Linked DNA regions of Homo sapiens: regions 1, 2, 4, 5, 6 and 7 are each linked to region 3. Evidence: promoter capture Hi-C in 16 types of primary human blood cells and fetal thymus (Javierre and others, 2016). All regions are on one chromosome and are shown on one strand. Each heading gives the region's core, a stretch centred on a gene start or on the middle of the fragment in contact. The rest is flanking DNA. Distances are from core to core; before and after follow the strand shown. Region 1 has its middle 25 kb from the start of GHET1. Region 2 has its middle 3.9 kb from the start of GHET1. Region 3 holds the start of C7orf33 (chromosome 7 open reading frame 33). Region 4 has its middle 29 kb from the start of ZNF786. Region 5 overlaps PDIA4 (protein disulfide isomerase family A member 4). Region 6 has its middle 42 kb from the start of GHET1. Region 7 has its middle 16 kb from the start of PDIA4.

Region 1 (3,372 bases), core at 708-3,207, 370 kb before region 3:
GCTGAAGCAGGAAAATTGCTTAAACCTGGGAAGTGGAGGTTGCAGTGAACCGAGATCGCACCACTGCACTCCAGCCTGGGCAACAGACTGAGATTCTGGCTCAAAAAAAAAAAAAAGTACATTCAGGCTGGGCACAGCGGCTAACGCCTGTAATGCCAGCACTTTGGGAGGCCAAGGCAGCAGGATAACTTGAGCCAAAGGAGTTGGAGACCAGCCTGGGCAATATAGTGAGACCCTGCCTCTACAAAAAAGGAAAAAAAATAACTGGATATGGTGGCATGTGTCTGTAGTCCCAGCTACTCAAGAGGCTAAGGTAGGAGGATTGCTTGAGCCCAGGAGTTTAGAGCTACAGTGAGCTATGATTGTGCTACTGTACTCCAACCTGGACAACACAGTAAGACCCTAAAAAGAAAAGGAGGGGGACATTTATGTAAGAATGCTTTCCCCCCAACATGAATATTTTGTAAAGTTAGCTTGTTTGATTGAAATACAAAATCAAATGGTAAAAAGCCAGTCAAATTTAGCAGTGGGGGGTTGTATACCAACTTTAGTGACACTAATGTTAATAAGTTCTGATAACCCACTACCATCGGACCAGCCAGAAAAACTGCTTTCACTTTCATTTTATAAATCTCTGAAGTGGCTACTCTAAATAAGTTAGGATGAGTTATTTTAAGAATTCTCCAAAAAGTCTGATATTATATGACCCCTACAAAATAATACTGCAAAAAGCCATACATTATCTGATTATCTTCCTTTAATTTTAAATAGCTTAATGCAAACTGATATTCAAAATAAATGTAGTTGCATGATGGGAAATAGACGTAAATTACCAAATGGAAGCCTCTTGTCCTTTGCAAATACCTGAAGACATTCATGAATCAAAGAAAAGTAAATGAACATATTTGTGTCAAATGCCCAGCAATAGAAACGTTGAACATTTAATGTCAACAAAATGAGCTTTGGTGTTTTTTTTTTTGTCGTCTCCCTGCCTGTGATCTGCAAAATGCCTTCCTGAATCAAGGCAGCAGCAGATGGCAGCAGTGCCCAGAGCATGCACTTTCCATCCACTTTCCCACGGAGCCTGGACCAGAGAACTCCTCACCCACGAACACACTGTTTTCACATCACCCACAAACACGCTGTATTCACATCACCCACGAACACGCTGTGTTCACACTGGTTGTTTCCTGGGACTTTTCCTGATAATCCTTAATAGTTCCTATAAATCACATGGGTACGCCAGGTTTAATATGCTCAGATCTCTCACCTTTCAGACAGGTTGCTGCTGGCATTGAGAAGTTGCCATAATCCTGAAAACAGCCTTTTACCAATGGTTTTATCAATGAAAGCCAAATCCCTCTCAATGATTAGATATAAGCACTCTCACTGAGTTTAGTAAGAAATCCCACATTAACCAGAAAAAAAAGGAATGAAAAGGATTAGAAAGTGATCAATAAACCTTAACTATTATTATCTTTGCCTATCAAATCTCAATTTTCCTGTTTTAAGTCATTCATATTTTAACATACCAAATGTTAAAGTATTAGGTTGGTGCAAAAGTAATTGTGGTTTTTGCCATTAGTTTTAATAATAATTGGAAGGTTTCAACTGACAGAAGAAAATGTATGTTCAAGATTATGATTAACTTGAATGCTTAGGAAATGTCACTTTCTTTCTTTCTTTTCTTTCTTTTTTTTTTTTTTGAGATGGAGTCTTGCCCTGTTGCCCAGGCTGGAGTGCAGTGGCCTGATCTCGGCTCACTGCAACCTCCTCCTAGGTTCAAGCCATTCTCCTGCCTCAGTCTCTCAAATAGCTGGGACTACAGGCACATGTCACCATGCCCGTCTAATTTTTGTATTTTTAGTAGAGACGGGGTTTCACTGTGTTTTCCAGGCTGATCTCGAACTCCTGACCTCAAATGATCCACTCTCCTCGGCCTCTCAAAGTGCTGGGATTACAGGCATGAGCCACCGCGCCTGGCTGGAAATGTTACTTTCTAAGGCATAACATTCCCCACCTTCATATGTATTGAGCTCAGCTAATCCCAGGAATTTTTTTAAAGTAATTGGAATGAGAATTATAATTGTTCTGGGACCTGGGCTTAGAGATGTGAAGGGCTGAGGCTTCCGGAGAGAGAGTGAAGAATACAGAAAAGACACAGTCCCTACCCTCAACTTGGTGATTGCTCCAGCAGTGATTAGGACAACTTTCCAAAGTAGACTAGCTGAGATTTCCTGGAGGGCTGGCCAGCTGCTCTGCCTCCCGGGTTCACGCCATTCTCCTGCCTCAGCCTCTGGAGTAGCTGGGACTACAGGCATCTGCCACCACGCCTGGCTAATTTTTTGTTTTTAGTAGAGACGGGTTTTCACCGTGTTAGCCAGGATGGTCTCAATCTCCTGACCTCATGATCTGCCCACCTCGGCCTCCCAAAGTGCTGGGATTACAGGCGTGAGCCACTGCGCCCAGCCACATCTCTTGTTAAAACATAAATAATCAACTTCTGTTTAACATGGTAGGCTGCCCACCAGCAATTGCCTCAATTCCTTTTGGAACCATTAAAATTAGACTGAAATAATAAAAAAGGAGCAGAGAAGAGAAAGAAGACACACTTGCATTCCTTCCTCTGCCCTGGAATGAGGTTTGGGGGTGTGGGGCTGGAGAGCCATCCTGAGACCACGAGAACAAAAGCCCTCACTTAGGAAGGCCTAAGAGAAAGAAAAAAAAGTCTTGGTGCATTGATGACAGGTGGGGCACTGCTCCAGTTCTGGACACGGCCCACCTCCATACTTTCTGCAACAAGAGGACACTAAATCTGCATGAGTTTAAGCCACTGTTACTGGGTTTCCTATGACACACAGCTCAACAGATTCCGAGCCATTAGAGAGAGTATAGAAAGTGTGAGATATGGACGGCTGGATCACTGGTGGGGTATGAGGAATTTTAGCTAGCACTGGATGTAAAGTTAGTAAAGTTCTTCAAGGAAGAACAATCTTAGTTTGACGATAATATGTCTTTAACACCTCCCATTTGTTAAGCTGCTTTTTTTTTTTTTTTTTTTTTTGAGACGGAGTCTTGCTCTTGCTCTGTCTCCCAGGCTGGAGTACAGTGGCATGATCTTGGCTCACTGCAACCTCCGCCTCCCAGGTTCAAGCAATTCTCATGCCTCAGGCTCCCAAGTAGCTGGGATTACAGGTGGGCACCACCACGCCCAGCTAATTTTTGTAATTTTTAGTAGAGACAGGGTTTCACCATATTGTCCAGGCTGGTCTCAAACTCCTGACCTCAGGTGATCTGCCCACCTCAGCCTCCCAAAGTGCTGGGATTACAGGCATGAGCCACCGTGCCTGGCCAAAAAAGTTGATTGTGGTT
Region 2 (3,661 bases), core at 592-3,091, 390 kb before region 3:
TGTTGCTATGATCACGTACCAGCTATGAACACAGGACTGTCACTGTATCTCAGGAATAATGGCAATTAAATGATATTGCAAGAGAGTAACAGTCTATTGGCCATAGTCACCATTTGATATTTGCAAAGGAATACATTTGTATTGTGTTTTATAAGGTACAGGGTATTTTCATATGACCTATTTCATTTAATATTCTTTGCAGTCCAGTTAAATTAGTATGACAGACATTATCATTTTACAAATGAAGAAACTGAGGTTCTGAGAGAGATCACATAAGCAGCCGAGAGTCAGCCACTGAGTTCATTGCTTGCAGAGCCAGAATAACCTTTCTTCCCCAAAAGTATTCTCTCTGCTACCCCGCAAAGAAAAACCAGCAATCAAACAATGTCAACAAAGCCATGAAACCAATTGCTGTACTATTCCAGTCAGTGGAAACATTGCTAAAAACTAAAAGATAGATGGATGGATAGTTAGGAGGGAGGGAGAGAGAGAGAAAAAAGTATGTAGTTGATGGTGGAATAACTGTTAATATGGACACTACGAAACTAACACGAGAGCAGAGTCAATTTCTCTGACTTTAGGTTGATTTCATTCCACAGATATGAGACTGCACAATTCTATCAGTCTTGATGACATATGTATCCTATCTCCAGAAACTTCCTAACCAGATAATATCTGCAAAGCAATAATGAATGCCCAGTGCAACTATAAGGCCAGCTCAGAGTAATATGATAACTTGAGGAAGAAAAGAGTTTGGCATTAGTTCTTTCCTAAGACGTATTTGAATAAGATAGGATTGTCAGATAAAATACAGGATGCCTGGTCAAATTTGAACAATAGTGTAAATAGATTTTTAGCATAAGTATGTCCCAAATATTGCACACTATATCCTACTGTCATTGCACAGACAGTAGTTTGAAGCCAAAATAATTTTGATTTGCAAAAGCGCGGCATTTGCGAAGAGAAAGGGGATATTTTCCAATACCAAAATCTTTATGTTTTACAAGAAAAGCAAAGCTTGGTGGATCCAGGTTTAGAGATAATACCATGAACCATCGTGTCCGAGGTGAGCAGTTTCCCCACCACACAGTAAAGAGGAAAGCTTCGTGTCTGCATCATTTCTAGGTTAACAGCTTGGGATTTTCTTCATCTTTGATCTTGCTAATACTGTATTAACACAGACAAGCTTAAGCACAGATGTGCAAAGTGTTTTACTTTTCAGTGTGAAATAGAATCATGCTATGTACATTACTTTGCAATTTGAAAAGCTTGCTCTCTTACCACTGCACTCTGCGGACCTTTGCCCTCTCCTGGATCCCTCTTCTTCATGCCTGACACCGTGGATAAGGAGGTGCGTGAGACATGGTTCATTCCTTAGGTCACCTAAACCTATGGTTCTCCTTATTCTCAAGGTACAATTCAGAGACGAGGGGACCTCCCTTTTCAACACGGAGCATGCCAGGCTCCTAAAAACACTTAATGTGCTCTGTCCACTAGTCATCTTCACTGGCAAGTAGTGGTGTGCTTAAGAAAAACCTTCAGGCAGGATCTTGGCTGTTCTGTATTGGGGAACAGAAAATGCTTTCCCACCCCAAAACCACAGCAAAAGGCTAGTCAAGTGAAGCAGTGGGAGTGGAGAAGGAACAAAGAAATCTGTAACTGGTTGTGATCAATTAGTTGTAAACACCACTGCACTCGGACCAGCCGAAACACAAAGGCACGCTGCTACTTATATAAGCCTCGAAAGTTCCATCTCTACCATAGTTACGGTGACTATTCACAGGAGCTAAAAAAAAGGAAGAGTATAAATACACCCCAAATAGAAAGCAAATGTTTAAAAAATAAAACTGTTAAACACATAGACTTTGTAAGAAAAAGGTCCTTCTCTCTTCAGTGACATTAAAGGAGCTCGGGCAACCCTGCTCAAAGCATTGTGGGTGATTTGCATGGAAACCCTGCATCAGCCACATCCATCAAAGACTCCCACGGTGCCCCCGGCGGGGCCTCAGTCTCACAGGGCCAGGACGTCTAGAGCGGGAGGGGACGTCCTCTTAAGAAGGAAGAGGCAACCCGCCGCGGGGGTGGGGCCGGGCGGGCGGGGGCCCCTTGGAATTCAGTGGCCCCCCCGGGATCAGGGGTCCCCGCGGTTCGGTGGTCCCGGACCCCACGCAGGGCTGGCGCGGCCCCCCACGCCCGCGCCCCCACCCCCGGTTCCCCGTGGAGGGGGAGCGTGTGTCCTGCGAGGAGCCCTGCAGCCCGGCGTCCCCTCCCCTTTTCCTTCCCAACGACCCTCTTTAAAAATGAATGAATGAATGTATGAATGAATGAAGTCCCAGATTCTGGTGTCACCCACGATGCTTTTCTTGAGCTTTCCAAGGTTTGTTTTGTTTTGTTTGAGCTCTTTAGGAAGCTTTCCTGGCGGTTTCGCCATAGTCCTGCGCTCCTGTTACCAAGTGGTTTTGTTTCAAAGCGGCTGCACTGGGGACCTTGAGCTATTCTGGAAGGAGGTTAGGAACCCCACTCTAAACAGAAAGGGAAACATTCGGTCCGTGGAAGCTAACATTTTAAAATACATAATTAGCAATTATCTTTTTAAAAAGTGACGCCGTGGAGGAATGAGGCGCACAGAGCCTCGGAGAGACTCCCGGGGGCTGAACGCGCACCTGGCTTCTCAGCAGGGGCAGCCTGGGCCCCCAGCCCTGGGCCGCACAGCGGGTCCCAGGAGCTGCCGGGTGGGGCAGGACCCGACACGAAGGGCGAGGGGAGCGCAGCCTCGGGGGTCTTTGCCTTTCCAGGCTCTGCAGTGGGGGCCCGACCCCTTGACCCCCAGAGCGGGTCATTTTGAACAATCCTCTTACTACAAAATTATTTTCAGTAAAACGCATGAAATAATCAGTATGTATCACTGGATTTTGCGATTAGTCCATTAATTTTAAAAGAAGCAATTAACAATTTAAAAAAGAAGATATGTCCATTTTAAAGTTTTTTTTTTTCAAATTTAGAAAAAGATTTCATGTTATGAAATGAACTTTCCACCTACCAAGTATTATATCTTGTGTTCCCTGCGTAAAGGCTGTGTGTTTTCACTTTTACATTAAACACACTTAAATTTTCTTTCCTTTTTTTCTTTTTTTGAGACAGGGTCTCCTCGCTCTGTCGCCCAGGCTGGAGTGCAATGGCACGATCTCTACTCACTACAACCTCTGCCTCCCGGGTTCAAGCGATTCTGCCGCCTCAGCCTCCGGAGTAGCTGGGAATACAGGCACCCGCCACCATGCCTGGCTAATTTTTTGGTAATTTTAGTAGAGACGGGATTTCACCATGTTAGCCAGGCTAGTCTCGAACTCCTGACCTCAGATGATCTACCCGCCTTGGCCTCCCAAAGTGCTGAGATTACAGGTGTGAGCCACCATGCCCGGCCTTAAATTGATTTTTAAAATATAAAATTTTGGCCGGACCGGTGGCTCCTGCCTGTAATCACAGCACTTTGGGAGGCCGAGGCGAACCGATCATCTGAGGTCAGGAGTTCGAGACCAGCCTGGCCAACATGGTAAAACCCCGTCTCTACTAAAATACAAAAATTAGCCGGGTGTGGTGGCAGATGCCTGTAATCCCAGATGCTCGGGAGGCTGAGACATGAAAATCGCTTGCGCCAGGAGGT
Region 3 (3,119 bases), core at 55-2,554:
CTGCAACATGGGAGAAAACAAATTAGGGCTGGAGAACTAGGTGGGGACACCTGTGGTTCCCATCAAACTGAACACCCAAAGCTGGAGATAAATACAAAGTGGGAGCTCATACTTTAACCAAAAATGCCTGCCTAGTGGGAGGCAGGGGCTTGGGGATCAGGAGGTGTCAAAGATCAAAGACAGGCAAAGAGTTAAGGATCCAGGTCTTGCTGGGCATGGGTGGCACTTCGGGATGTTGAAGTGGGAGGATCGTTTGAGGACAGGAGTTCAAGACCAGCCTGGGCAACATGGCAAGACCCCATTTCTACAAAAAATAAAAAAATTAGCTAAGCCTGATGGCACATGGCTGTAGTCCTAGCCACCCGGGAGGCTCCTCTGGGAGGATCACTTGAAGCCAGGAGGTTGATGCTGCAGTGAGCTATGATTGTGACACTGCACTCCAGCCTGGGTGACAGAGCAAGATACTATCTCTAAAACAACAACAACAACTCCTGGTCTTTAAAGCGAGAGAAGAGACAAGAATCTAGGCAAGGAGAAGGGAACAGGTGCAAAGCTTGTGCCAAAGGGTGACCAAGATAGAGGCTTCCTGTGGACCCATCTCCAGGGCAAAACATAGTCTGAGAACAAGCGCATTCCTTCTACCACACTGTGTGAAAATATACAATTTTTACGCTGGAATTTTTCAAATCAACATGACTCAGGCTAAACACAAGAATACTCAGTGGAGTGTTTTGTGAGGATTCTTTTCCCTAAGAAGATTCCAGGCCTTCTTTGGGGCAGTGAATTAATCTCTGTCTCTCTCTTTACTTCAATGTCGTTAAGCCCAGTTCCATAACACATAGTAGAGAGTCAAAAACATTCATGGATTGAGTGAATGAATTCTCAAGAGATACTGACTGACTCAAAGAGCAGTTGATTCATCTTAGAATCATTAACTTACCTTATGTCTTCCCGTGGCATATGACAAGTTAAATTGACCTGGACCGCCCCTAACGTGGACCCAAACAGCGACTGCCCTCCCACTCAGGCGAAGGTCAATCCGGCGCCTTGCCCCACTGGGCAGGAGGGCTTCACATTCACATTGGGGGCCTGGAAGTCTCCAGGGACACTCTTCAAGGCTGAGGCTTTGAACTTCCACTTGCATTTTGGCAAAGGTAATTACCTTTCCTGGATGCTGTCAAGGAGAGCGGCGCTTCACCACCAATATCTAAGATCAAGTCGCACGGATCCCCAGGGTCAGTAGGAGGATTCAGACACAGGCTGGGCGCCTCGCTCCTGACCACTGGATTGGCATCACCATAAGTAAGGTCACAGCTGAGTAGAAAATGCCTGAGGCAAAGTGGGGGTGAAAGAGGGGCCACCGAGCAGTGTGATAGGCAGCCCCTTCCGCCAGCTCATTATCCCCACCTGCTCCTGTCGTCTCCTATTAGAATCCTAATGCGAGTTTACGGAAAGTCAGCTGGAGCTTGTCCTCCATGTAATTCAGATCACGTTGCCTGCAGCTCTTAGGTACTCAAATAAACAGAAGGACTAATATTACTACTGAAAAAGTAATTAAGGGCATTCATTGTAAAGTAATAATGATTACCTCACCCTCACCATATGGCCAGAACTGATTAACACCTAGAAGAAATGATCTAAAACCTCTACAATCAGAATTAATGTCTCAGGTCATAATGAGAAACATTTTGTAGCGGGGTTTGGCAGGGAAGGATGAAAAAGTGGTTGGGAGTTTACTAAATCAAGAGGCACAAACAAAATATTGAGGATAACATCCTTTTTCAGGATTTTTCATCTCATTCAGATTAGACAAGTTGCATTTTTAGTGTAGAACCCATATCACAAATGCAAAAAATATTACAAGATTTACACATTGGAATTGTCACTTAATTGGATGAGTTTTTCCTCCATTGTTTCTTTTATAATGATGAGGAATTGATGGAAGAATCTCCATCGAGGCTGGCAGTTTCTTAAATCACCAGGGAAGGGCTTAGCCCACTGATTGAAAATCTTCTTATCGTAAATTACTGGTTAAAATGCTATTTGTTGTCAGGAGTATCATGGAGTGTGATTTAATCTCTTAAGATTAGTTAAAGTGGTAGAAATGTTAGCATTTCTGGGTAATGCCAAACAGGTTAGCATTACAAAAGATGCCTAGAAAGATACGGACCCATTTGGAAGACAAGGTTGCTGTAAAAGCCAGTTTGCAGGTGCACCGTGGGGGGTGACAGGATGCCCTGGGCTGTTCTTGATTAGTGCGTGTGCCCTAGGGTCATGTGGTGAAGCATAAGGAAGCAGAATTTGGGATATTTTTCCCACCAGAATCCCTAAGATTACTCTGTGTACTGCTGGGGAAAAGCTTAATGGGCTCAACACCACCCTTGAGGGAAGGCAATAATGGAATCTCTTTTTTCTGCAAATACTTCCTTGGGTGGTGCATCATGATTCCCTGAGGCAGGATTTCCTGCAGCAGAGCTGGAGGGGCTGGAGGGGCTGGTGGGGCTGGTGGGGCTGGTGGGGCTGGAGGGGCCAGAGGGGCTGGTGGGGCTGGTGAGTCTAGAGGTGCTGGAGTTCCAAGAACTTGGCCTGGAATCTTGAACCTGCAGCCATACATTCGGACTCTAGCTTTGCCTTTTTACTTATCTGTCTTTGACCACTAAAGAAATAGACAGACCTCATAATATTATTTCCTCGACTGCCTCTTAAAAGTCAAAACCTTAAGTTAAGGACACCTCACATTTTGGTCAAGACCAGTGGACCTAGGTAAGAGTAAATCAGAGAATTCCCAAGGTGGAAGAAGTTATTCCTAGACAACGAATGAATCCCCTGGATTTGGGTTGCGGAGTGAGGTGACCAGCTGGTCACCCTGGGGGTGGACTGAGCCAAATGCCTAAGCCTCATTGTTGTTTTAATAACCCAAGTTGGATTCAGGGAGTACCTGTGCAATTCTGTGATTAGCACATCGGGCAGTGAGATTTCCGCACGTTGTAGCTGAGAGGCCGGCTGCTGAGACGACCCCTTAGGGAAAAGTGGAAAACTCTGCCTCCAGAATGGAGATCTGGCTTTCTCTTCCCCTGCTCAACCTGAGCTCAGGGATTCTGTGCCCCTCGCTCTCCGGA
Region 4 (3,293 bases), core at 664-3,163, 470 kb before region 3:
GTCAATTCACATGATGAATATTCTGCCTTCTCAAGATTTGTGTCCTAACTCCTTCCCCAATATAACAAAGGTAGAAGGGCTTTTAAACATTACTGATGAGGACAGGTGTGAAGCCACCCTGAGACAAAAGGAAATGTGTTTGGGGTTCCAAGTGGCAATGACCTTTGACGACATGGCCATCTGTTTTTCAATACAGGAGTAGGAGAATCTGGATGGATATCAGAAGGAACTTTACAAGCAGGGGATGAGGAGTATCTGTGAAGCTCTGATCTCTCTAGGCAAGATGGGTTTTTGTTGAAAATTTGAGAGTAATTCATGAAATCAGAGACTAAGCAAGTCTCTGCAGGTTACCTGTTCTTTCTGTTGGCTGCTTGGTTGGCCTCTGGAGACAGCAACCTACTTATCAGTAGGATATCCTGAGAAAAATTATTTCCTTGATAATTATGCCTAGTTCATGTCTTCCAAGTATCCTATTTGCCTTATAATACCTTAATCAAATGCTTTATTGCCACCAATTTCTTAGGGTCTCTGCATTTTGGCTTTATTGTCTTAGAACGCAACCCACAAAACAGCCAGAAGTGTATGTGCCAGTTAAATCAATGCTCATCTTTCCAGAATTTTCATTCCTTTATTTAATTCAGGAGAAATCAATAAACACTTATTGCATACTTCCCATGTATCAGATTCTGGGGTAAGTAGAAAGATAAATAAAATATAGTCCCTACCTTCATGGGGCAAATAGCCCACTGAGAGAGACATATGGGCCGGGTGCAGTGGCTCACACTTGTGATCCCAGGACTTTGGGAGGCCAAGGCGGGCAGATCTCCTGAGGTCAGGAGTTTGAGACCAGCCTGGCCAACATAGTGAAACCCGGTCTCTACTAAAAATACAAAAATTAGCCACGCATGGTTGTGGGCGCCTGTAATCCCAGCTACTGGGGAGGCTAAGGCAGGAGAATTAATTGCTTGAATCCGGGAGGTGGAGGTTGCAGGGAGCTGAGATCATGCCCCTGCACTGCAGCCTGGGTGACAGAGTGAGACTCCATCTCAAAAAAAAAAAAAAAAAAAAAAGGCATATGTATTGCGTGAGGGCACTTTTGCTTGCAGATGACAGAAACTCAGCTCAAAGTACCTAAAGGAAAAATAAAAAGTAGCTTATAGGTTCATGTAATAGGAAGCCCAGTGGTCGGATTGTCTTCACAGCTGGCTGGGTGCAGGGGCTCACGCCGTGGTTCAGGGCACTTTTGTGCTCTTTCTTCTTAGTTTTGCTTCCCTCTGTGTTGACCTTATTTTCTCCAACTGCATAGGTTTCTTTCATATGCTGAGAATGATAGTTGCCAATGGCCCCAATTTCACTTCATGTTCCCAAAGGTGTTCTCCAGATAAGGCAGATTTACAATTGCCCTCAGCATTTTTTCTTTTTTCTTTTTTTTTGAGACAGAGTTTCACTCTTGTTGCCCAGGCTGGAGTGCAATGGCACAATCTCGGCTCACTGAAACTTCCGCCTCCTGGGTTCAAGCGATTCTCCTGCCTCAGCCTCTCGAGTAGCTGGGATTACAGGCGCGCGCACAAGGCCCAGCTAATTTTGTATTTTTAGTAGAGATGGGATTTCACCATATTGGCCAAGATGGTCTCGAACTCCTGACCTCCGATAATCATCCCACCTCGGCCTCCCGAAGTGCTGGGATTATAGGCCTGAGCCACCGTGCCTGGCCACGCTGTCAGCATTTTTAAAGGCTCAGAGAGGCCCTGCAACAAATAAACCTGTTAAACTTTGTTTAATCTGTCATTTCCCAAGTTTATTTCATCTGAGAACCGCCCCCCCCCCAACTTTTTTTGTTTTTTTTTTAACAGAGTTTCGCTCTTGTTGCCCAGGCTGGAGTACAATGGGGCGGTCTTGGCTCACTGCAGCTCTGGCCTCCCAGATTCAAGTGATTCTTGTGCCTCAGCCTCCGGAGTAGCTGGGATTACAGGCGCCTGCTACCATGCCCGGCTAATTTTTTTTTTTTTGGAGACGGAATTTCGCTCTTGTTGCCCAGGCTGGAGTGCAATGGCGCAAGGGGGCTTGGCTCACCGCAACCTCTGTCTCCCGGGTTCAAGCGATTCTCCTGCCTCAGCCTCCCAAGTAGCTGGGATTACAGGCATGTGCCACCACACCCCGCTAATTTTGTATTTTTTTAGTAGAGACGGGGTTTCTCCATGTTGGTCAGGCTGTTTTCGAACCCCTGACCTCAGGTGATCTGCCCGGCTCAGCCTCCCAATTCTGGAAAGATGAGCATTGATTACAGGCGTGAGCTATTGCGCCTGGCCTGTATTTTTTATTTTTTTTTAGTTTTTTAAGATGGAGTCTTGCTCTGTTGCCCAGGCCGGAGTGCAGTGGCGTGATCTAGGCTCACTGCAACCTCCGCCTCCCAGGTTCAAGCAATTCTCCTGCTTCAGCCTCCCAAGTAGCTGGGAAAATTAGCACACCGCCACGCCTGGCTAAGTTTTTGTATTTTTACTAGAGATGGGGTTTCACCAGATGCCCAGGCTGGTCGCGAACTCCTGAGCTCAGACAATGTGCCCCGCTTGGCCTCCAAAGTACTGGGATTACAGGCGTGAGCCACCGCTCCCGGCCTAATTTTTGTATTTTTAGTAGAGATGGGGTTTCACCATGTTGGTCAGGCTGTTCTCGAACTCCTGACCTCAGGTGATCTGCCTACCTCGGCTTCCCAAAGTGCTGGGATCACAGGCATGAGCCACCGCACCTGGCTGAGAACACTTTTTACAAATATTTGGTAGCCACACCCTTTAGGACTGGAATTCTGTGGAATTCACTTTGGGAAGTATTGTGAATTTCTTATACAAAGGACGGAGCAATTAATTCTTCCTGTGTAGGTTTCACTAAGGAAAAGTCGGTTGCTCTAGGCCTTAAATGATTTAAAAAGAGAAAGAAAAAAATATTTTCCTGGGTTAAGGAGATGGGAGAGGGCATTTCAAGAGGGTTTGAGAAAAGACAAAGGGTGGTGAAAATGGAGTGCGTTCAAGACTGCCCTGTCATCTTTTGTGGCTAGATCATAGGATTCTTTGGGGGAAAATGGCAGGAAATAACCTGTGTGAGGCCAGCTCATGGACGGCCTTGAATGCTGCATTGGATTTGGCCTGCATCCTAAAGGCATTAGGCTGCCACAGGGGCTTTAGAAATGAGAAGGGAATGATCTGTATATTGGAAAGTTAACTGATCACATGATGTAGGTTGAATGAATCTGGAGAAACTGGAAGCAAAATGGCTAGATAAGAAGCTATTTCTGCTGC
Region 5 (3,562 bases), core at 126-2,625, 420 kb before region 3:
AGCAGTCCTGGTATGTCTGACCATCAGGCCACCAAGAACCGCCTCAGATGGGTGTGTTCTGTAGGGAGTCTGGGAGAGTCAGTAAGCAGAGGAAGCTTTTGGGCCTAGAACCAGCAGGTGGAGGCCATGGCTGATGCACAGGCCGGGGGGTGGGTGGCACCTTCTGCACTGTGGGGTCAGGTTTGGGACCAGGACACCCTTGTTCCAGGCAATGCCTGGATAAGCCCAAACCTGAGGCCACAGATTCTGCAGCAGAAACCTGGGAGTTGCTGGATGTGCAGATGAAAAGTGAAGTCAGGTGGGTGGTTAGAGAAGGAAATGATCTGGGAGAGAAGGAAGGAAGCGTCTGGGACACGTGGGGCACCCTTCTAACCCCCTTGCGATGCTGGAGAGACACAGACCCTTGTTTCGCTATGCATGGGGCCCTGGCCTGATGGGTGGGAGGTGTGAGAGGGAGAGTGGCAGCTGCACATCTAACTGGTGGGTTGCTTTGTGGCTCGCTCAGGAGCCAGGTTGAGCCGACTGCTGCACAGTGCACGCTCAGCGAGTGTAGTGCGATTTCCCTGAAGTGGTTGATGATGCCTCAGAAGATAATTATCCATTTATTCACAAACAGTTTTTTGGTCTTTTGATGTGTTTTTGTGTGTGTGGTGGGAGGTTGTTTGTTTTTTTTGTTTTGTTTTCTTAGGTTTCTTTTGAGATAAGGCCTTGCTTTGTCACCTGGGCTGGAGTACAGTGGCACCATCATAGTTCACTACGCCTTGAACTCCTGGGCTCAATTGTGCTGCCTCAGCCTCCCTAGTAGCTGGGACCACAGGTGTGTGCCACCACGCCCAGCTAATATAAAAAATATTTTTAGAGATGAGGTCTTGCTATGTTGCCCCGGTTGGTCTTGAACTCCTGGCCTCAAGCGACCCTCCCGCCTCAGCTTCTGGAAGCACTGATATTACAGGAATGAACTACTGTGCCAGCCAACAAATGGTTTTGAAGTTGCAAGATGCACCCTTTAATTCATTTGGGTGTCCTAAGGACTTTGACAGGATGGTGTTTTATCTTAACTCAGGACTGAGAGCCTCCTGTGTGCCAGGCCCCAGCTGGGTGTGGGATGTTGGTTCTTTTTTGAGACGGAGTCCTGCTCTGTTGCCCAGGCTGGAGTGCAGTGGTGCGATCTTGGCTCACTGCAACCTCCGCCCCCTGGGTTCAAGCGATACTCCTGTCTCAGCCTCCCGAGTAGCTGGGATTACAGGCGCCCACCACCATGCCCAGCTAGTTTCTGTATTTTTAGTAGAGACGGGGTATTGCCATGTTGGCCAGGCTGGTCTCAAACTCCTGGCCTCAGGTGATCCACCTGCCTCGGCCTCCCAAAGTGCTGCGATTACAGGAGTGAGCCACTGCGCCCGGCCAGTTCTTGTGGGCAATGGGCTGTGTGACGCAATACTGACTCCAAGGGACTCTCCCTCATCTCCTCCCTGGGTGGTCTGTGTCAGTGAGGGTTTGTGACGCTCTTCTGTTCTCCATGCCTCTGTTCTTGTTACCTGGACCTGCCGACCCTCTCTTCGCCCCACCTCCCGTGGGCTCCTGGCTAATTCCTCGCTGTCCCTTGGATCCTAGCTCCACTGCTACTCCTCCTCTGAAGCCATCTATGACTTACATCCTTGCTGGCCCCCAACTCTCCAACCAAGAAAGTCCTCTTGCTCAGGACAGTGTCTCTCTTGGCCTCTCCATGTTTTCCCCTGTGCCGCAGTTACTAATGTCCTGTCTGTGTCCTGTACATGTGTGTACGCATGCTCCACCCCCAGTGTGTGAATGCTGTGGGATGAAGTTTGTGTCTGTCCAGCGGTAGCGCCCTCAACAGCACCTGAGGGCCTGAGGGTCTAGGAGGCATTCGGAGGCTTACTGGGTGTGGCCAGGTTACTAGGGAGCACAGGATGGGTTTCTGCAGCTCATTTAGCTAGAAAGTGAGTCCACACTAGAATGAGCCCCTGACAAACCAGTTTCCTCTTGGCAGGTGTGGACACTGCAAGAAACTTGCCCCCGAGTATGAGAAGGCCGCCAAGGAGCTCAGCAAGCGTTCTCCTCCAATTCCCCTGGCAAAGGTCGACGCCACCGCAGAAACAGACCTGGCCAAGAGGTTTGATGTCTCTGGCTATCCCACCCTGAAAATTTTCCGCAAAGGAAGGCCTTATGACTACAACGGCCCACGAGAAAAATATGGTATGGCCACTCCCTTCTCTCCCACTACAGTGGGGAAGGGAAACTCCCTAACAGGAAGCTGCCATTGAAGGTGCTGGGGGCTGGCAGGCATGGGCCATGGGAAGTGGGCAGTTCTTAGTGCCCCTGCTCAGGCGTGTGCCCTGCTCCCAGGAATCGTTGATTACATGATCGAGCAGTCCGGGCCTCCCTCCAAGGAGATTCTGACCCTGAAGCAGGTCCAGGAGTTCCTGAAGGATGGAGACGATGTCATCATCATCGGGGTCTTTAAGGGGGAGAGTGACCCAGCCTACCAGCAATACCAGGATGCCGGTGAGTTGTGGCCCTCTGGGCTGAACAAAATGTGCGTGCCTTGGGCCGTCTGCGGTTGCCTGGTTTTTCAGAAAGCTCCTGGGACATCCATTAGGGGGTGGTTTGATGAGCCATCTCTGGGAATAAGCTTTCCATTCTGGGGTTGGAGTTGGGGCTGGGGCTGGAGATGGGTCCCCTGTGGCCCTCCTGGCCTCGGTGCAGGGGAGGGGCACAGTCAGACCGGTCCCAGCTCCATGTCTGCCTTCCAGAGCCCGAGGAGGGCAGGTCTTCAGGCCATAAGGTGCCGGCCTCTGAATCAAACCAGCTTTCAAGGCCTGGCTCTTCCAGTTATTATCACTGTGACCACAGGTGGTGACTCAGTTAGCCTAGTGGTCTCTTGCCCAAGGTGGTGGTCTTTTCTGAGAGGTTATTACACTGAGATAATGTAGATGAAGAGCTTAGCAATGTACTTGATAATGCTAAGTGTATTATAAATGCTAGTCTTGCTAGCCTGAGGAGTGAAATGACTGTGAACAGCTGTCAGCAATAGTGTTCTGTTGGGGTAGGGGCAGGCAGCAGTTGCCCCATCCTGAAATCCATCGTCTGCCTTGGTCTGGCTCCTGATGCCTGGGGACAGGTGTACTCAGGGTCCTGGCCATCCTCATTGATGTCTTCTGAGTGCTACCCTCTCCCACTACACCAAAACCAGCTTGGCTAAGTGCTAACTGATTATAATTTTTCAAATGCACAGCTTGCTACTTAGTGCTAATTCTGTGCTTTACAATAACAATTGTGCATAAGTCAAATGCAGATTAATGTATAAAACCAGTAGAGCTAAATTCCCTTCATCTGTTAATTAGGTGGCCTTGTTATTCACGCCTAACTAGTCAGGAAGAAACTTGCAGAAGGAAACCCCAACCCACCCAGGGTTATGGGCAGCAGGGGATTCCGTAGCCCCAAGTCTGACTGCAAGTTACGTGCATTGATGTGCATGCAAATCCCCAGGGAATTTGTTAAAATGCAGGTTCCAGTGCTGTGGGTCCCAGGCAGGCCTGGCACC
Region 6 (3,623 bases), core at 284-2,783, 360 kb before region 3:
TTCCTACTGTGCCACGTACTTGCTGTGTGCCCGTGGGCCACTCCTCTACCTCAGTTTCCTCAGCTGTAAAACAGGCATAATGGCACCTACCACATAGAGTTATCATCAGTAGGAAGTGTTATATTTTTGTTAGATACTAAATAAATAAACACAGCACAACTCATTCATTGAGGAATTGGTGCATTCAATATCCAAAGTAAATACTCTATTATCCATTTCAAAATAATCGCTTGGAAAAATTACTCCAAGGATACAGCCATTGATCAAAATGTATTCAAAATCTTGGGATACAAAGCTAACCAGGCGGCCTGCGCTGTAGTCCCAACTACTCTGAAGGTTGAGGTGGGAGGATCACTTGAACCCAGAAGTTCGAGGCTGCAGTGAGCCGAGATCGCATCACTGCACTCCAGCCTGGGTGACAAAATGAGACCCTGTCTCAAAACAAAGCAAAATAAAAACTTGGAGCCCAAGGCAGGAGGATCAATTGAGGCCAGAATTTTGAGATCCCAATATATATACATATTTTTTTGAGACGGAGTCTCACTCTGTCACCCAGGGTGGAGTGCAATGGTGTGATCTCAACTCACTGCCACCTCCACCTCCTCGGTTCGAGCAATTCTCCTGCCTCAGTCTCCTGAGTAGCTGGGATTACAAGTGCGCGCCACCACGTCAAGCTAATTTTTGTATTTTTAGTAGAGGAGGGGTTTCACATATTGTCCAGGCTGGTCTCGAACTCCTGACCTCATGATCCGCCCACCTTGGCCTCCCAACATGTTGGGATTACAGGCGTAAGCCACTGTGCCCAGCCACAAAAATATTTTTATTTTCTTTTTTTCCCCAGATACTTCAGAGATGGATACGAAAAATTTTTGTTTGTTTTTTGAGACAAGGTCTCGCTCTGTTGCCCAGGCTGGAGTGCAGTGGCACGATCTCGGCTCATGGCAACCTCCGCCTCCCAGGTTCAAGTGATTCTTCTGCCTCAGCCTCTCGAGTAGCTGGGACTACAGATGCGCACCACCACGCCCTGCTAATTTTTGTATTTTTAATAGAGATGAGGTTTCACCATATTGGCCAGGCTGGTCTCAAACTCCTGACCTCGTGATGTGCCCTCCTCGGCCTCTTTCCAAAGTGCTGGGGTTTACAGGCTTGAGCCACCGTGCCTGGCCTCGAAAATATTTTTTAAAAATTATCCAGGCATGGTGGCACGTGCCTGTAGTCCCAGTGACTTGGAAGGCTGAGGTGGGAGGATCATTTGAGCCCAGGGGTTCGAGGCTGCAGTGAGCCATGAGTGCATGCCACTGCACTCCAGGCTGGGTGACAGAGTGAGATTGCAACTCAAAGGTAAATAAAATAAAATAATAAATAAAACCAAATGAGTTTGTCTTCAGAAGCCGTGGAATATTCTTTTTGGTATCTCTGGGGCAGCAAATTTTCCTCTTTTGAAGATAGATTTGCTTTTTAAAACGGTCCAGAGTCCATCAAAGTCAAGGACGTTGAATATGATAACGCAATGGGAAGCACTGTCTTGGCAAAAATGAAGTGATGTAAAATAACACGACCCATTTTCTTGCATGGGTCACACTTCAACTTTGAAGGAGACTTTCAAAACAGAAGGGTTCCAAATATGCTTCAGCAATGGCAGCACTTCTTGGTAAAGTGCATGTATTAGTTATTGATGGCTGCATAACAAACAAACCCAACACTTAACAACTAACATTGATTTCCTCACACTAGCTGTGGGTCAGGAATCTGGCCACAGTTAGCTGGGTGCTCAGGCTCAGGGTCTCCCACAGGCTTGAAATGAAGGTGTGGTCCACGGTTGTGGTCATCTCAAGGCTCAGTTGGGGAGAGATTGGCCGCAAGCCCTCTCACAGTGCTCAGGGCCTCCCTGGCTGTTGGCTGCATATATAGCTCTTTGCCTCTGTAGGGCTGTTCAGTACGTGACAGCTGGCTTTCCCCGGCAAAGGAGAGAGGCACTTTACTTTTGTCTTATTCTATTCCTTAGAAATGAGTCAGTAAGTTCAGATTACACTCAGGAAGAGGGAATTACACAAGGGCACAAAAAAATTAGTGCCAGGAGGCAGGATCCTTGCAGAGTTCCCTGAAATGCAAGGGATGATAGCATTCATTTCAACAAGATATCTTTCTCTCTCTCTCTCTCTCTATGGTTGTTTTTACGTTTTTCATGTTCTGTAAGGATGCTACTTTTTTCCTTATATTATATACACAATATATAATATATATCATATCATATACACAATATATAATATACCATATCATATATACTATATAATATATATCATATCATATACACAATATATAATATATATCATATCATATACACTATATGTAATATATCATATCATATACACTATATAATATCTATCATATACATTATATATAATATCTATCATATACATTATATATAATATCTATCATATACATTATATATAATCTATCATATACATTATATAATCTATCATACATTATACATATCTATCATATACATTATACATAATATCTATCGTATACATTATACATAATATCTATCATATACATTATACATAATATCTATCATATACATTATACATATCTATCATATACATTATACATAATATCTATTATATACATTATACATAATATCTATATTATACTATATACATAATATATGTTATATACATATGTTATATACATAGTATATGTTATGTTATATACATAATATATGTTATATTATATACATAATATATACATAATATATGTTATATTATATACATAATATATACATAATATATGTTATATTATATACATAATATATACATAATATATGTTATATTATATACATAATATATACATAATATATGTTATATTATATACATAATATATACATAATATATGTTATATTATATACATAATATATACATAATATATGTTATATTATATACATAATATATACATAATATATGTTATATTATATACATAATATATACATAATATATGTTATATTATATACATAATATATACATAATATATGTTATATTATATACATAATATATACATAATATATGTTATATTATATACATAATATATACATAATATATGTTATATACATAATATATACATAATATATGTTATATTATATACATAATATATACATAATATATGTTATATTATATACATAATATATACATAATATATGTTATATACATAATATATACATAATATATGTTATATTATATACATAATATATACATAATATATGTTATATTTACATAATATATACATAATATATGTTATATTATATACATAATATATACATAATATATGTTATATTATATACATAATATATACATAATATATGTTATATTATATACATAATATATACATAATATATGTTATATTATATACATAATATATACATAATATATGTTATATTATATACATAATATATACATAATATATGTTATATTATATACATAATATATACATAATATATGTTATATTATATACATAATATATACATAATATATGTTATATTATATACATAATATATACATAATATATGTTATATTATATACATAATATATACATAATATATGATATATTATATACATAATATATACATA
Region 7 (3,205 bases), core at 290-2,789, 450 kb before region 3:
AGACCAACCTGGGCAACATAGTGAGACCACCACCCCCATATCTATTAAAAAAAAAAAAAAAGAATAGTATGAAGAGCATGATTGCACTTAGTAAAATAATTCCCATCCGTATTTTTTAAATTTTTTTAATTTTTTTATTTTTTCCTGAGTTGGAGTTTAGCTCTTATTGCCTAGGCTGGAGTACAGTGGCACAATCTCGGCTCACTGCAACCTCCGCCTTCTGGTTTCAAGCAATTCTCCTGCCTCAGCCTCCTGAGTAGCTGGGATTACAGGCCCCCGCCACCACGCCCAGCTAATTTTTGTATTTTTAGTAGAGACAGGGTTTCACCATGTTGGCCAGGCTAGTCTCGAACTCCTGACCTCGTGATCTGCCCACCTTGGCCTCCCAAGCCCATCCATCTTTATCCTGTCCTCTCAATTCTTGGAAGTACAATGCATAGAACTTTTATTCTCAGCCATTTGAGAGTAAATTGCCTGAGGCTCCATTACCCTCCAAACAAGGACATTCTCCTACATAACCACAATGGCACCATCAAAATCAGGAAACTGGAGTGATACCATCAAAATGATACCATAACCATGAAAACCAGGAAACTGGAATGAAACTGCCAATCCTTAGGGCCCCTTCACGTTTTGACAATCGTTCTAATAATGTCCTTTTCGCAAAAGGAGCCAGTTTAGAGTCGCCTGCTGTATTCAGCTGTCCTGTCTCTCTAGTCTCTTTCAGTCTAGAACAGTCTCAGTCTGTCCTTGACTTCCGTGGCCTTGCTGCTCTTCAGGACTACAGAAAAGTTATTTTGTCAAATGCCCCTTAATTTGGGTGTGTCTGCTATGTCTGTCTTCCTGAGAAAGTTCAGGGTCATTTCTTGAGGAGCATGTCCAGAAGCGATTCTGTGTTCTGTTGCAACTCAGCAGGTGGCACACGATTCCAATTTGTTTCATTACTGGTGATGTTCACTTTCATCACTTAAGTTAGTGTCTGCCAGATTCTTCCACTATAAATAAGGAAGTTGCTTCCCCCCCTTTTTATTTTTTTATTTTTTATTTTTTGAGATGGAGTCTCACTTTGTCGCCCAGGCTGGAGTGCAGTGGCGCGATCTCGGCTCACTGCAAGCTCCGCCTCCCAGGTTCACGCCAGTCTCCTGCCTCAGCCTCCCAAGTAGCTGGGACTACAGGCGCCCGCCACCACGCCCGGCTAATTTTTTTGTATTTTTAGTAGAGACGGGGTTTCACTGTGTTAGCCAGGACAGTCTCGATCTCCTGACCTCGTGATCCGCCCACCTCGGCCTCCCAAAGTGCTGGGATTACAGGCGTGAGCCACCGCGCCTGGCCCCTTTTCCCCCGTCTTGATAACTTTCTAGTATTTTTGTGATTTTTGTGGGGGTAATTTGAAATCATGTGAATATCCCATTCCTCATGGAGTTTTTCATTTATTCCTCTGCAGATTTTATACCTCTATGACTCATCATTTCCTGTAGTCCTGTTTTATCCCATGCATTGTAATCCTTCTCTCTCATTATTTTGATGCTCTGTCTCAGATTTGGCCAGTGGGAGCCCTGTACACAGACATCTGTGCCTTTTGCATGTCCCTGGCATTCTTTGGGCAACTTCCTTGCTCTCTCTGGCACAAAAAGATGTTCTGGGTTCATTTATATTTTCCCTGTCCTGATACTGCAATCAACCATTTCTCAAAGGAGCCCTTGCTCCTTTTAATGGAGAATGGTTAGAAGCCAAGAACTGGACACGGGATGTGCTCGTGGCTATTTAAGTGTGGCCATGTCTAGGTCCTCTCAGTGGGCAGAGCTAGGATGTGCATACATGGAACACACATGCAAACACAGAACACACATGCGAACACAGAACACAGTGCACACATGGAGCACATGCGAACACAGAACACACGTACACACATGAAGCACATGTGAACACAGAACACACGTGCGTACATGGATCACACATGTGAACATAGAACACACGTGCATACATGGAACACATGCATACCTGGAGCACAGAGACATCTTTACACATACACTTATTTCCATATCTTTAAACATTTTTACTGCTTTTTTGAGGTCTCACTGAAAAATAAACATTGCATATATTTAATGTGTAGTGATGATCTGATATTCATGTACACTGTGAAATGATGACCATGACCAAGCTATAACATATCTTCCACCTTCCCTAGTTACCATTTGTGTGGTGAGGACACTTGAGACCTACTCTCTGCACGTCTCAGGTATACAACACGATATTGTTAACTGTAGTCACCATGCTGTACTTCCAAATCTTTTTTTTTTTTTTTTTCGAGAGAGTCTCGCTCTGTCGCCCAGGCTGGAGTGCAGTGGTGCTATCTCAGCTCACTGCAAGCTCCTCCTCTCCGGTTCACGCCATTCTCCTGCCTCAGCCTGAGCTGAGGACTACAGGCGCCCACCACCACGCCCAGCTAATTTTTTTGTATTTTTAGTAGAGAGGGGGTTTCACCACGTTAGCCAGGATGGTCTCCATCTCCTGACCTCGTGATCCGCCCACCTCGGCCTCCCAAAGTGCTGGGATTATAGGCATGAGCCACCGTGCCTGGCCAATTTTTTAATTATTTATTCATTTTTTGAGACAGAGTCTTGCTCTTCACTCAGGCTAGAGTGCAATGGTGTGATCTCGGCTCACTGCAACCTCCGCCTTCTGGGTTCAAGGAATTCTCATGCCTCGGCCTCCCAAGTAGCTGGTATTACAGGCATGCACCACCATGGCCGGCTAATTTTTGTATTTTTAGTAGAGACAGGATCCCACTGTATTGCCCAAGCTGGTCTCAAACTCCTGGCCTCAAGTGATCTGCCCGCCTCAGCCTCCCAAAGTGCTGGGATTACAGGCGTGAGCCACCACACCTGGCCTCTAAATCTATTTTTTAAAATGACTTTAGGTGGTGTGTGGCTCAGGCCTGTAATCCCAGCACTGTGGGAGGCCGAGGTGGGAGGATCGCTTGAGCCTGGAAGCTGGAGACCAGCCTGGGCAACATTGTGCCTGGTCAGAAATGTGTTTTTGGTTAAAACAGTTCATGTGTGATTTTGACGGAAGGCAGATCCAAGTCCTTGTAAGGAGGGAACTGAGACTAATATCTGCAGCCCTCCAGTCCCAGACTCCCCATTCCACACTCCAGGGCTCCCACTGTCTTCTGGCATTTGCTTCCTAAACTACAACCCAGCCA

Evidence for each region. The method cuts DNA at HindIII sites, captures the fragments that hold promoters and counts their contacts. A CHiCAGO score of 5 or more calls a contact.
Region 1: a contact is called between a fragment that was not itself captured here and the fragment with the promoter of C7orf33 in region 3, in 17 of 17 cell types (activated CD4 T cells, naive CD8 T cells, total CD4 T cells and 14 more). The highest score is 29.4, in activated CD4 T cells.
Region 2: a contact is called between a fragment that was not itself captured here and the fragment with the promoter of C7orf33 in region 3, in 8 of 17 cell types (activated CD4 T cells, naive CD4 T cells, non-activated CD4 T cells and 5 more). The highest score is 9.6, in activated CD4 T cells.
Region 4: a fragment that was not itself captured here is called in contact with the fragment with the promoter of C7orf33 in region 3 in 4 of 17 cell types (total CD4 T cells, activated CD4 T cells, non-activated CD4 T cells and 1 more); the score reaches 6.7 in total CD4 T cells.
Region 5: a contact is called between a fragment that was not itself captured here and the fragment with the promoter of C7orf33 in region 3, in 1 of 17 cell types (activated CD4 T cells). The highest score is 5.9, in activated CD4 T cells.
Region 6: a contact is called between a fragment that was not itself captured here and the fragment with the promoter of C7orf33 in region 3, in 2 of 17 cell types (total CD4 T cells and activated CD4 T cells). The highest score is 6.2, in total CD4 T cells.
Region 7: a contact is called between a fragment that was not itself captured here and the fragment with the promoter of C7orf33 in region 3, in 1 of 17 cell types (activated CD4 T cells). The highest score is 6.3, in activated CD4 T cells.

What each region holds. Positions count from the first base shown.
Region 1 is chr7:148,960,543-148,963,914 of GRCh38, reverse strand. It overlaps RNY4. Among named protein-coding and RNA genes, the nearest start is that of GHET1, 25 kb to the left of the region's middle. The HindIII fragment of the contact is 4,489 bases long and covers 1-3,372 here.
Region 2 is chr7:148,981,800-148,985,460 of GRCh38, reverse strand. It overlaps RNY3. Among named protein-coding and RNA genes, the nearest start is that of GHET1, 3.9 kb to the left of the region's middle. RefSeq lists a silencer at 2,004-2,103. The HindIII fragment of the contact is 1,142 bases long and covers 1,271-2,412 here.
Region 3 is chr7:148,588,951-148,592,069 of GRCh38, reverse strand. It overlaps C7orf33 (chromosome 7 open reading frame 33), which reads right to left and starts at 1,304. Exons shown (of 3, transcript NM_145304.4): 1 at 941-1,304. The coding sequence starts at 1,144. The HindIII fragment of the contact is 1,806 bases long and covers 556-2,361 here.
Region 4 is chr7:149,060,339-149,063,631 of GRCh38, reverse strand. No RefSeq gene overlaps it. Among named protein-coding and RNA genes, the nearest start is that of ZNF786, 29 kb to the left of the region's middle. The HindIII fragment of the contact is 5,726 bases long and covers 1-3,293 here.
Region 5 is chr7:149,010,807-149,014,368 of GRCh38, reverse strand. It overlaps PDIA4 (protein disulfide isomerase family A member 4), which reads left to right. Exons shown (of 10, transcript NM_004911.5): 5 at 2,009-2,214; 6 at 2,365-2,523. Among named protein-coding and RNA genes, the nearest start is that of PDIA4, 16 kb to the left of the region's middle. RefSeq lists a silencer at 1,392-1,558. The HindIII fragment of the contact is 2,555 bases long and covers 98-2,652 here.
Region 6 is chr7:148,943,797-148,947,419 of GRCh38, reverse strand. No RefSeq gene overlaps it. Among named protein-coding and RNA genes, the nearest start is that of GHET1, 42 kb to the left of the region's middle. The HindIII fragment of the contact is 8,358 bases long and covers 1-3,623 here.
Region 7 is chr7:149,042,857-149,046,061 of GRCh38, reverse strand. No RefSeq gene overlaps it. Among named protein-coding and RNA genes, the nearest start is that of PDIA4, 16 kb to the right of the region's middle. The HindIII fragment of the contact is 8,171 bases long and covers 1-3,205 here.